2 separate regions of the Homo sapiens genome follow, and region 1 is linked to region 2. Evidence: promoter capture Hi-C in 16 types of primary human blood cells and fetal thymus (Javierre and others, 2016). All regions are on one chromosome and are shown on one strand. Each heading gives the region's core, a stretch centred on a gene start or on the middle of the fragment in contact. The rest is flanking DNA. Distances are from core to core; before and after follow the strand shown. Region 1 overlaps SHPRH (SNF2 histone linker PHD RING helicase). Region 2 holds the start of RMND1 (required for meiotic nuclear division 1 homolog).

The links. The method cuts DNA at HindIII sites, captures the fragments that hold promoters and counts their contacts. A CHiCAGO score of 5 or more calls a contact.
Region 1: a contact is called between a fragment that was not itself captured here and the fragment with the promoter of RMND1 in region 2, in 1 of 17 cell types (naive CD8 T cells). The highest score is 9.2, in naive CD8 T cells.

Annotation. Positions count from the first base shown.
Region 1 is chr6:145,958,157-145,962,489 of GRCh38, reverse strand. All of the region lies in intron 1 of SHPRH (SNF2 histone linker PHD RING helicase), which reads left to right. Among named protein-coding and RNA genes, the nearest start is that of SHPRH, 4.0 kb to the left of the region's middle. The HindIII fragment of the contact is 5,758 bases long and covers 1-4,333 here.
Region 2 is chr6:151,449,857-151,454,174 of GRCh38, reverse strand. It overlaps RMND1 (required for meiotic nuclear division 1 homolog), which reads left to right and starts at 2,049. Exons shown (of 12, transcript NM_017909.4): 1 at 2,049-2,159. It overlaps DCPH1 (damage control phosphatase 1), which reads right to left and starts at 1,709. Exons shown (of 5, transcript NM_024573.3): 1 at 1,589-1,709. The coding sequence starts at 1,629. RefSeq lists a silencer at 1,352-1,471 and enhancers at 1,632-2,081, 2,272-2,321. The HindIII fragment of the contact is 8,083 bases long and covers 429-4,318 here.

The DNA of each region.
Region 1 (4,333 bases), core at 1,187-3,686, 5.5 Mb after region 2:
TAGTATTTCATTTTTCTCAGAAATACTAGTTTCATATTACCTATAGTCTTCTAGAATGTGGATAAGAGAGACTTCTCCAAAAAGAAATAAGAGTAAAGTATCGTTAGGTCCTCAAAAGGAGGGAATACATCCACGGAATTAGAGATCTTTGTTTCACCCTTTTTGTATGTCTTTACTTCCTAGCACTGACCTGGCATTGGGAGTACAACACTGAATAGGATACTACTCCTGCCCATCTTTCAAAGTGAACACTCTAGCAGTTGGGATCGAGGAGAGAGAGGCCCTTAACTCAGCTTCTCTAGTCATGGAAGCCTTTCCAGGGAAGATTGGGATGGAGACAGGCATAAAAGCAATTCAAGCAAAAGGCTTTTATATTTAAATACAAGACAGTAAAAGTGCGGTCCATATAGAAAACTTCACATAATTACGTTTTACCCAAACACTGCTAATTAAGGAGGAGGAAGAAGTAGTTGTGACTGATAAGGTATGAATAAAACCAGAAGAATATGGGATGTGGTTAGATACAGAATTTCACCAGTACTTGACTTACTAGTTGCCAAATTGCATTTTAGTCATAAGTATATTTGACCAAATACTATTTTCTTTGGTTCAAGAAGTTAACCCTGAATAGAGATTTCCTTAAGTAAAGACTCAGTCAAAACCAGGAGCTTTTTGTTTGGTTGGTTGATTTTTGATCATGAATGTTTACTCAGTTAAGAACTGGACAAAGGGAGAGCATTGCTAGAAATTCTGGTGTTGACTTTTCTGCAGTTTATCATTATCACTGATAAGTACCTTGAGGCACTAATATTGGAAGAATCAGGCTGAAAGAATACATCTGAAGGAATGTGCAAATTATAATGGTGTACATAATTTAAAAGATACTGGATAGGTTTTACCAGAGAACAGAATAAATAGTTGAAGTAATGTTTTCTGGTTTGGTAATATGTCTGTTACAAAATTATTGTGGGAAACATGGCACATATTACTTCTCACATTCCATTGGCTAGGACTGGTCACAGGACCAAACCAAGCTGGGCAGTCATTTCTCAACTACTCTATACTTTGAGTGGAAATAAGTGGATTTTAGTTGGCAGCTGGTTATCCATAACAAGGTTTTTTGAACTTGGCTGCACCCTGGAATTTTTTAGGGATTCTAAAAAATAAAGGGAGTAGTGCCTGGGCCCTTCTCCAAGACATTCTGACTTAGTTGGCTCGACATCAGGATTTTTTTAAGTTCCCCTGGTGATTCTAATGTGCAGTCAAGTTTGAGAAGCACTAATCTGTGGTCCCCCATCCTGCGACATTACAGTTTGGTTATTGTGAAATGTGGTTTAGAGCAGGGGTCCCCACCCCTCAGGCCATGGACCGGTGCCAGTCCGTGGCCTGTTAGAACCGGGCTGCATTGCAGGAGGTGAGTTGCGGGCAAGCGAGCATTACCACCTGAGCTGTGCCTCCTGTCAGATCAACAGTCAGTAGATTACCATAAGAGCATGAATGCTATCGTGAACTGCATATGCGCAGGATCTAGGTTGTGCACTTCTTATTAAAACCTAATGCCTGATGATCTAAGGTGGAATAGTTTCATCCCTAAACAACCCCCTCTCCACTCCACCCCTCTCCTCCGGTCCATGGAAAACTTGTCTTCCATGAAACCCATTTATGGTACCAAAAAGGTTGGGAACTGCTGGTTTAGAGTGTTCTCAGGATGATGATAAGTAGCAACTACCATTTATGGAATACAGGCCAAATTTCTAGTACTGCTGTTGTACTTAAATTATTTCTAACCACAATCCTGCTATCATCCCCATTTTAGAGATGAGAAAATTGGCACAGAAGACTGGATAACTATTCCAATGCCACACAGTCAGTAAATGCCAAAGCTGGAATTAGAATGAATATAAGACTTCAAAGCATTGCATTCTCACCTTTAAGCCACATCGCTTTGCTAATGTGAGACTCTGCTAGACAGTTGCTTTTTGGGTTTTCAGAGTTAATGATTCCACAATAACCATGTTATTAATATTATTATGGTTAGTGTGATACATTGTGTAACTGGCCCAATTCCCTTCCAACACTCCCTCTACCCTTCCACCCCCCATATCCATGCTCTTTGCCATGTGCAGTTTCACCTAGTAAAGAGGTGTAGTATATTTCTTCACCACTTGACATTGGGTCCATGGATATGTCTTGCTTTGGTCTGTGGCACCTTAGTGGTTTTTAAGCACTTTGAAAACTACTTGTGTGATTGGATTTGCAGTAATACACCTCAACCATTGCCATAAAGAACATTCCTGAGTTACTTTGCTGATCCAAGGAGAGGGGATAGGAACTACATTAAGCAGAGCCAAACTGCTTTTCCAGAAACCTAGCCTAGATTAGCCTCCTTCAGCTAATGTGCAGATCTATGAGAATAAATGATTGCTATATCAAGGTATTGAGCTTTGAGGTAGTGTGTTACACAGCATGTTTGTGGCAGTAGTTAACTGATAAGCTACTATAGCATAACTTTTTAAAGTTCCTGCAGAGTGACCCACTTTCAGTATTCCAGCTTATGCTTTGAGGAAAACTGGACAAACATAAACACTTAGGAAATTAAGAGCTTTCTATATTATTCCACTAAGATAAGAGAGGATAAGATGCTTTAAAAGTAGTTGACCATAGCCAAGGATTGATTTTAATCCATCACCTGCACATTCATAAGTGAAGCACGGGCTAAGGGAATAGAATTCTCATGATTGACTTAAACAAGCACTGTCTGATACATAGACTTTTTGCAATTATGTGAATGCTCTATATTTGTGCTGTCCAGTACAGTAGCCACTAGTCACATAGCGCTACTGAGCACATGGGGCTAGTGAGACTGAAGAGCTGAGTTTATAACATTTAATTTTATTTATAGTCATGCATCACTTAATGATGGGGCTGTGTTTTGAGGAATGCATCATAGGCAAGTTTGTTGTGTGAACATCTTAAGAGTATACTTACACAAACCTAGGTGGTACCGCCAGCCTACTACACACCTAGGCTCTATGGTACAGCCTGCTGCTCCTAGGCTACAAACCTGTACAGTATATTCGGTACTGGATACTGTAGGCAGTTGTCACACCGTAGTATTTGTATATTTAAACATATTTAAATATAGAAAATGTACAATAAAGATATGGTATAAAAGATAAAAAATAGTACACCTTTGTGGGGTACTTAGCATGAATGCAGCTTATAACACTGAAGGTTGCTCTGGGTTAGTCAGGGAGTGAATGTGAAGGCCTGGGACATTACTGTACACTTCTGTAGACTTTGTAAACACTGTACACTTATGCTACACAAAGTTTATTAAAAAATAAAGTAATGCGGCTAGGCGCGGTGGCTCACGCCTGTAGTCCCAGCACTTTGGGAGGCTGAGGCATGCAGATCTTGAGTTCAGGAGTTCAAAACCATCCTGGCTAACACATGAAACCCCGTCTCTACTAAAAATACAAAAAAAAAGTTAGCTGGGCATAGTGGCAGGCGCCTGTAGTCCCAGCTACTCAGGAGGCTGAGGCAGGAGAATGGCATGAACCCAGGAGGTGGAGCTTGCAGTGAGCAGAGATCACGCCACTGCACTCCAGCTGGGCAACAGAGTGAGTCTCTATCTCAATAAATAAATAAATAAATAAATGCATTATGATGTTACAATGGCTATGATGTCACTAGTCCATAGGAATTTTTCAGCTCCCTTATGGAACCACTGTAATATTTGGTCCCTCATTGACCAAAATGTCATTATACAATGCATAACTGTATTGAAAGTTAAGTAGTCACATGCAGCCAATAACTACCTTATTGGATTTGCTTTGGCCAATAGTAGCTAGAAACTACTTCCTTGGAGGTGCCAAGGAAATCACTTCCTTTGAATCATAGGGCCACCTTGTTCCTAAATAAAGGTTCAGTCATCAGGGAAGGAGGATAGACCTTAGGCAGGTAAATAATGTCACTTTAGTTTCTTTTATGGTTATTGGTCTATTCATATTTTCCTTCTTGGGCCAGTTTTGTTCATTTGTATTTTGTTAGCAAAATTTTATCACTTTATAATTTATCATTTTATCTAGATTTTTCAGATTTATTGAATAAAGTTATACTTAATATTAAAATTTCTAAATCTCGTGCATCTTTTTGTTTTTGCTCTTTAAATCAACTTTATGATATAATTTATGTATAAGAAAATTCAATTTAAAGTATATAATTTGATGAGTTTTGACAGATGTATACTCTGCAATCATGTGTTGAACATTTATGTCACCCCAAAGCCTGCCTTCCTGCTCCTTTACTGTCAGTCACCTCTTTATACTTC
Region 2 (4,318 bases), core at 800-3,299:
TCACCTGCTTAGAAAGATGAATGAAGCAATGCATCTAAAACCACCTAAAGGGTCTAATGTGCTTGAACAACATAAAGAATTAAAGGTACTTTTAAGCCTGTTTCTCTCCATTCTGTCTATTTTCTAAGTCAATTTTAATTATTTTCAAAAATTTTCCCCTTCTCTGCCTTCTCTATCTGCACAATGGACTCCTTCCATCCTATTCTGCCCCTAAGCAAATGAAGGCGTGCTACTGTCTCTTCCCACTCAAAAAATCAGAGATTTTATAGAAGTGTTCAAGAATGAAGCAAGCTGGAGATGAAGAAAAACTTATACCTGCATTAAAAAATTAAAGATATTCTTGATTTTATTCATACAAAACCCAAGATTTACAGATTATCATTTTATATCATTCTAAGGAAATACATGATACAGGTAGAAAAAAAGCTTTATTTGGTGGAGAAATTCTGTGCAGTTTTAAATATAGAGCACAGAGCTTAGCTGACTAGTGTTTTTATCTCCAGATCACAGGAGACAATTGTTAAATTACTAGATTGTAACTTGGGTATTTCTTCAAAAGGTTTCCTCAAATGATAGCTATAGAACTTTAAGAAAAAAACTGCACACACTTTCCGACTCTGTGGTGCTTTCAGTACCACCCAAAACAGTGATTAGGTTTTAATGCGCATAATAACTACGTTGATCAGAATTTAATTTTTAAAAATCATTAATAAAAGAAATCACTAATACCTCAGAGGGTGAGCAGGAACATTAAATCAACTGTCACTTGAATTTTCCCAGGCAGTAGGTATAGTAAGTCCTTTTTTGAGATTTTACTTTAATTGGAAAGTATTACTGTTTTCCTAACTACTACATTTCCTGCACCTCTGGAACAAAGTCTCTGGCCAGGACTGGAGTGAGGCCAGAAGCCCTAGGGCGCAAAATTGAAGGAGATACTCTCTATACTTGCATGACCTGAAACAGTGACTGCCTCAATTTGGGGCCATTGGCGCCACTTTGTTGGCCTCAACCTACTTTCTGCCCAGGTTTATTTTCTTCAAAGTGTTCTCGTCTTTTGCAATATTTTGAAGTAAGGACAAATTTCAAATATAAATTTGGCCATTCGATTTATGCAAATGGATGTTATTTGCACGGTCACCCACAACTTTACCCAAGAATCAGTAGCGTGACGACTATAAAGCAAAAAACTAGACAGTTCTTACTGTGAGATTACGATTTGATCAACAACAGGGAGAAACCCGTTTCTTAATAGCGCTGAGATCCCCAACTCTTACGCAGAATTTTAACGCCCCCAAAGCGCGTCTATTAAAGTGAATAAATAAAAAGTGACCGCCAGGAACAGACCGCGAAGCTGACCCCTGTCCTGATCCTTACGAGCAGCCGCCGCGGGCAGGCTCCCTCCCCGGGGCCGCCTCCCTTCGCCTCCGAGCCAGTCCGCGAAACCCGCAAAGGCGCCCCGGAAAGCCGCGCCCGGCGGCGGGACTCGAACGCAGCCCACCGGGGAGCGGGCGCCCTCCGCTTAGTCCCCACAGGCTCCCGGCGAGGCCCGGCTTTCCGCAAAAGTGGGGAGGAGAAAAGCTAGACTAACCCCACGTCCTGTCCTGAGAGAGACGCCGGGACGACAGCCATCACTTTCCGCGATCCCGGCCGCAAAGCTCGGCTGTTCAATCGCCGCAGAAACAGAGGCGGTACCGCCGCGAAGGAGGAGCTGAGAATGGGGGTGGTGTGGCTTTAAAAAAAAAGTGCTTTTGAATAAAGAAACTTTATTTGGTGCCCGATCAAACGGCAAACAGTGGCTCGCCAGAAGACCCAATCTTCCGGGGACGAAGGCGGGGCCAGCGGAGGGCGACTAGAGGAGCGGATATGGAAGCGAGCGAAAGCCGGAAGCAGGCAAGGGACCGGGAGGTCCCAGGGCCTAGGGAGCGGAAGAGGTCGCGGCGACGCGGCTCACGTGGTCAGACAGTCACGTGGCCCGAGTTTCTCCCGCTAAGTGGGACCAGAGTTCAGTGCGGCTGCGCAGTAGCGGGGGTGGGCGGGAGCGCCCTTCCAGGAGATGGGTTGGCTGCAGTAGTGAGAGGCTGGGGGTGCGGCTCTTTCCCTGCAGTCCTGCCGAGGAAGCGTGCGTCCCTGGCGCTTCCTTCTTCTCTTCCGGCGGAGAGGTTAGTGTATTGCCTTTTCTTTAGCAGCTCGAGTGGTCCGGCTTGGAGGTCTGCGCCCTGGCTCCTGGCCGCCCGGAACGTGTACAGTTACGGGTTACGCCAGTGCGGCTGTGACCCTTTGCCTCTTACCGTGATCTTTGGTCAGCTTAGCTGGGAGTAAAAAGCACTCAATTAATGAACCCTTTTTTTGAGCCAGTGCACCGCGGTAACTGTAGAAATCGATAAAATAATTTTGAGTTTGAGGAATTGAACGGCATACTCCCAAAGATGAGCGCCACTTAGCTCTCGAATCGTAGCCTAGCTGTAATCGATTTTCTTAATTGGTGTAATTGTTCTCTAAAAGTTGAAATGTGCCCGGGAACTGAGTAACTGCCTTGTATTTCATTTTAAAAATTCGATCGAATGCCTACTATGTGCTGGGCGCTATTGTCAGGAGATATAATAGGAAAAAACACAAATCCGTATCCTCAGGGAGCTTCCATTCTGGAAGGAAGACACAAAAATCTGCCCTTTCCTCTTATTTTTTTCCTTTAGCTTTGTGTCTCACGTATTTTACTGATTTACCTCGTTTTGTCTGTCACTCCCAATGCAAGGTTCAAAAGATTCAAAAGATAGGATTTTTGTCTATTTTATTTTCAGCTGTATTGTCAGCAACTAGGACAATACCTGGCACATGATAAGAACTGAGTTCGTTTGCAGTATGAATTAATAAACTAAAAATTAAAGGTGTGCAAGTGATGTTAAACAATGGAGAAATGCAAAGTGGAGGAAGATAAGAGAATGGATGCTGGTTGTGTTTTTTTTTTTTTTTTTTTTTATTGATCATTCTTGGGTGTTTCTCGCAGAGGGGGATTTGGCAGGGTCATAGGACAATAGTGGAGGGAAGGTCAGCAGATAAACAAGTGCACAAAGGTCTCTGGTTTTCCTAGGCAGAGGACCCTGCGGCCTTCCGCAGTGTTTGTGTCCCTGGGTACTTGAGATTAGGGAGTGGTGATGACTCTTAACCAGCACGCTGCCTTCAAGCATCTGTTTAACAAAGCACATCTTGCACCGCCCTTAATCCATTCAACTCTGAGTGGACACAGCACATGTTTCAGAGAGCACAGGGTTGGGGGTAAGGTCACCGATTAGCAGGATCCCAAGGCAGAAGAATTTTTCTTAGTATGGAACAAAATGAAAAGTCTCCCATGTCTACTTCTTTCTACACAGACACGGCAACCATCCGATTTCTCAATCTTTTCCCCCCCTTTCCCCCCTTTCTATTACACAAAACCGCCATTGTCATCCCGTCCCGTTCTCAATGAGCTGTTGAGTACACCTCCCAGACGGGGTGGTGGCCGGGCAGAGGGGCTCCTCACATCCCAGTAGGGGCGGCCGGGCAGAGGCGCCCCTCACCTCCCGGACGGGGCGGCTGGCCGGGCGGGGGGCTGACCCCCCCACCTCCCTCCCGGACGGGGCGGCTGGCCGGGCGGGGGGCTGACCCCCCACCTCCCTCCCGGACGGGGCGGCTGGCCGGGCGGGGGGCTGACACCCCACCTTCCTCCCGGACGGGGGCTGGCCCCCCCACCTCCCTCCCAGACGGGGTGGCTGGCCGGGCGGGGGGCTGACCCCCACCTCCCTCCCGGATGGGGTGGCTGGCCTGGCGGGGGCTGACCCCCACCTCCCTCCCGGATGGGGTGGCTGCCGGGCGGAGGGTCTCCTCACTTCTCAGATGGGGCGGCCGGGCAGAGGCGCTCCTCACATCCCAGACGGGGCGGCGGGGCAGAGGTGCTCCCCACATCTCAGACGATGGGCGGCCGGGCAGAGACTCCCCTCACTTCCTAGATGGGATGGCGGCCGGGAAGAGGTGCTCCTCACTTCCTAGATGGGATGGCGGCCGGGCAGAGACGCTCCTCACTTTCCAGACTGGGCAGCCAGGCAGAGGGGCTCCTCACGTCCCAGACGATGGGGGGCCAGGCAGAGGCTGCAATCTCGGCACTTTGGGAGGCCAAGGCAGGCGGCTGGGAGGTGGAGGTTGTAGCGAGCCTCGATCACGCCACTGCACTCCAGCCTGTGCACCATTGAGCACTGAGTGAACCAGACTCCGTCTGCAAACCCGGCACCTCGGGAGGCCGAGGCTGGCAGATCACTCGCGGTTAGGAGCTGCAGACCAGCCCGGC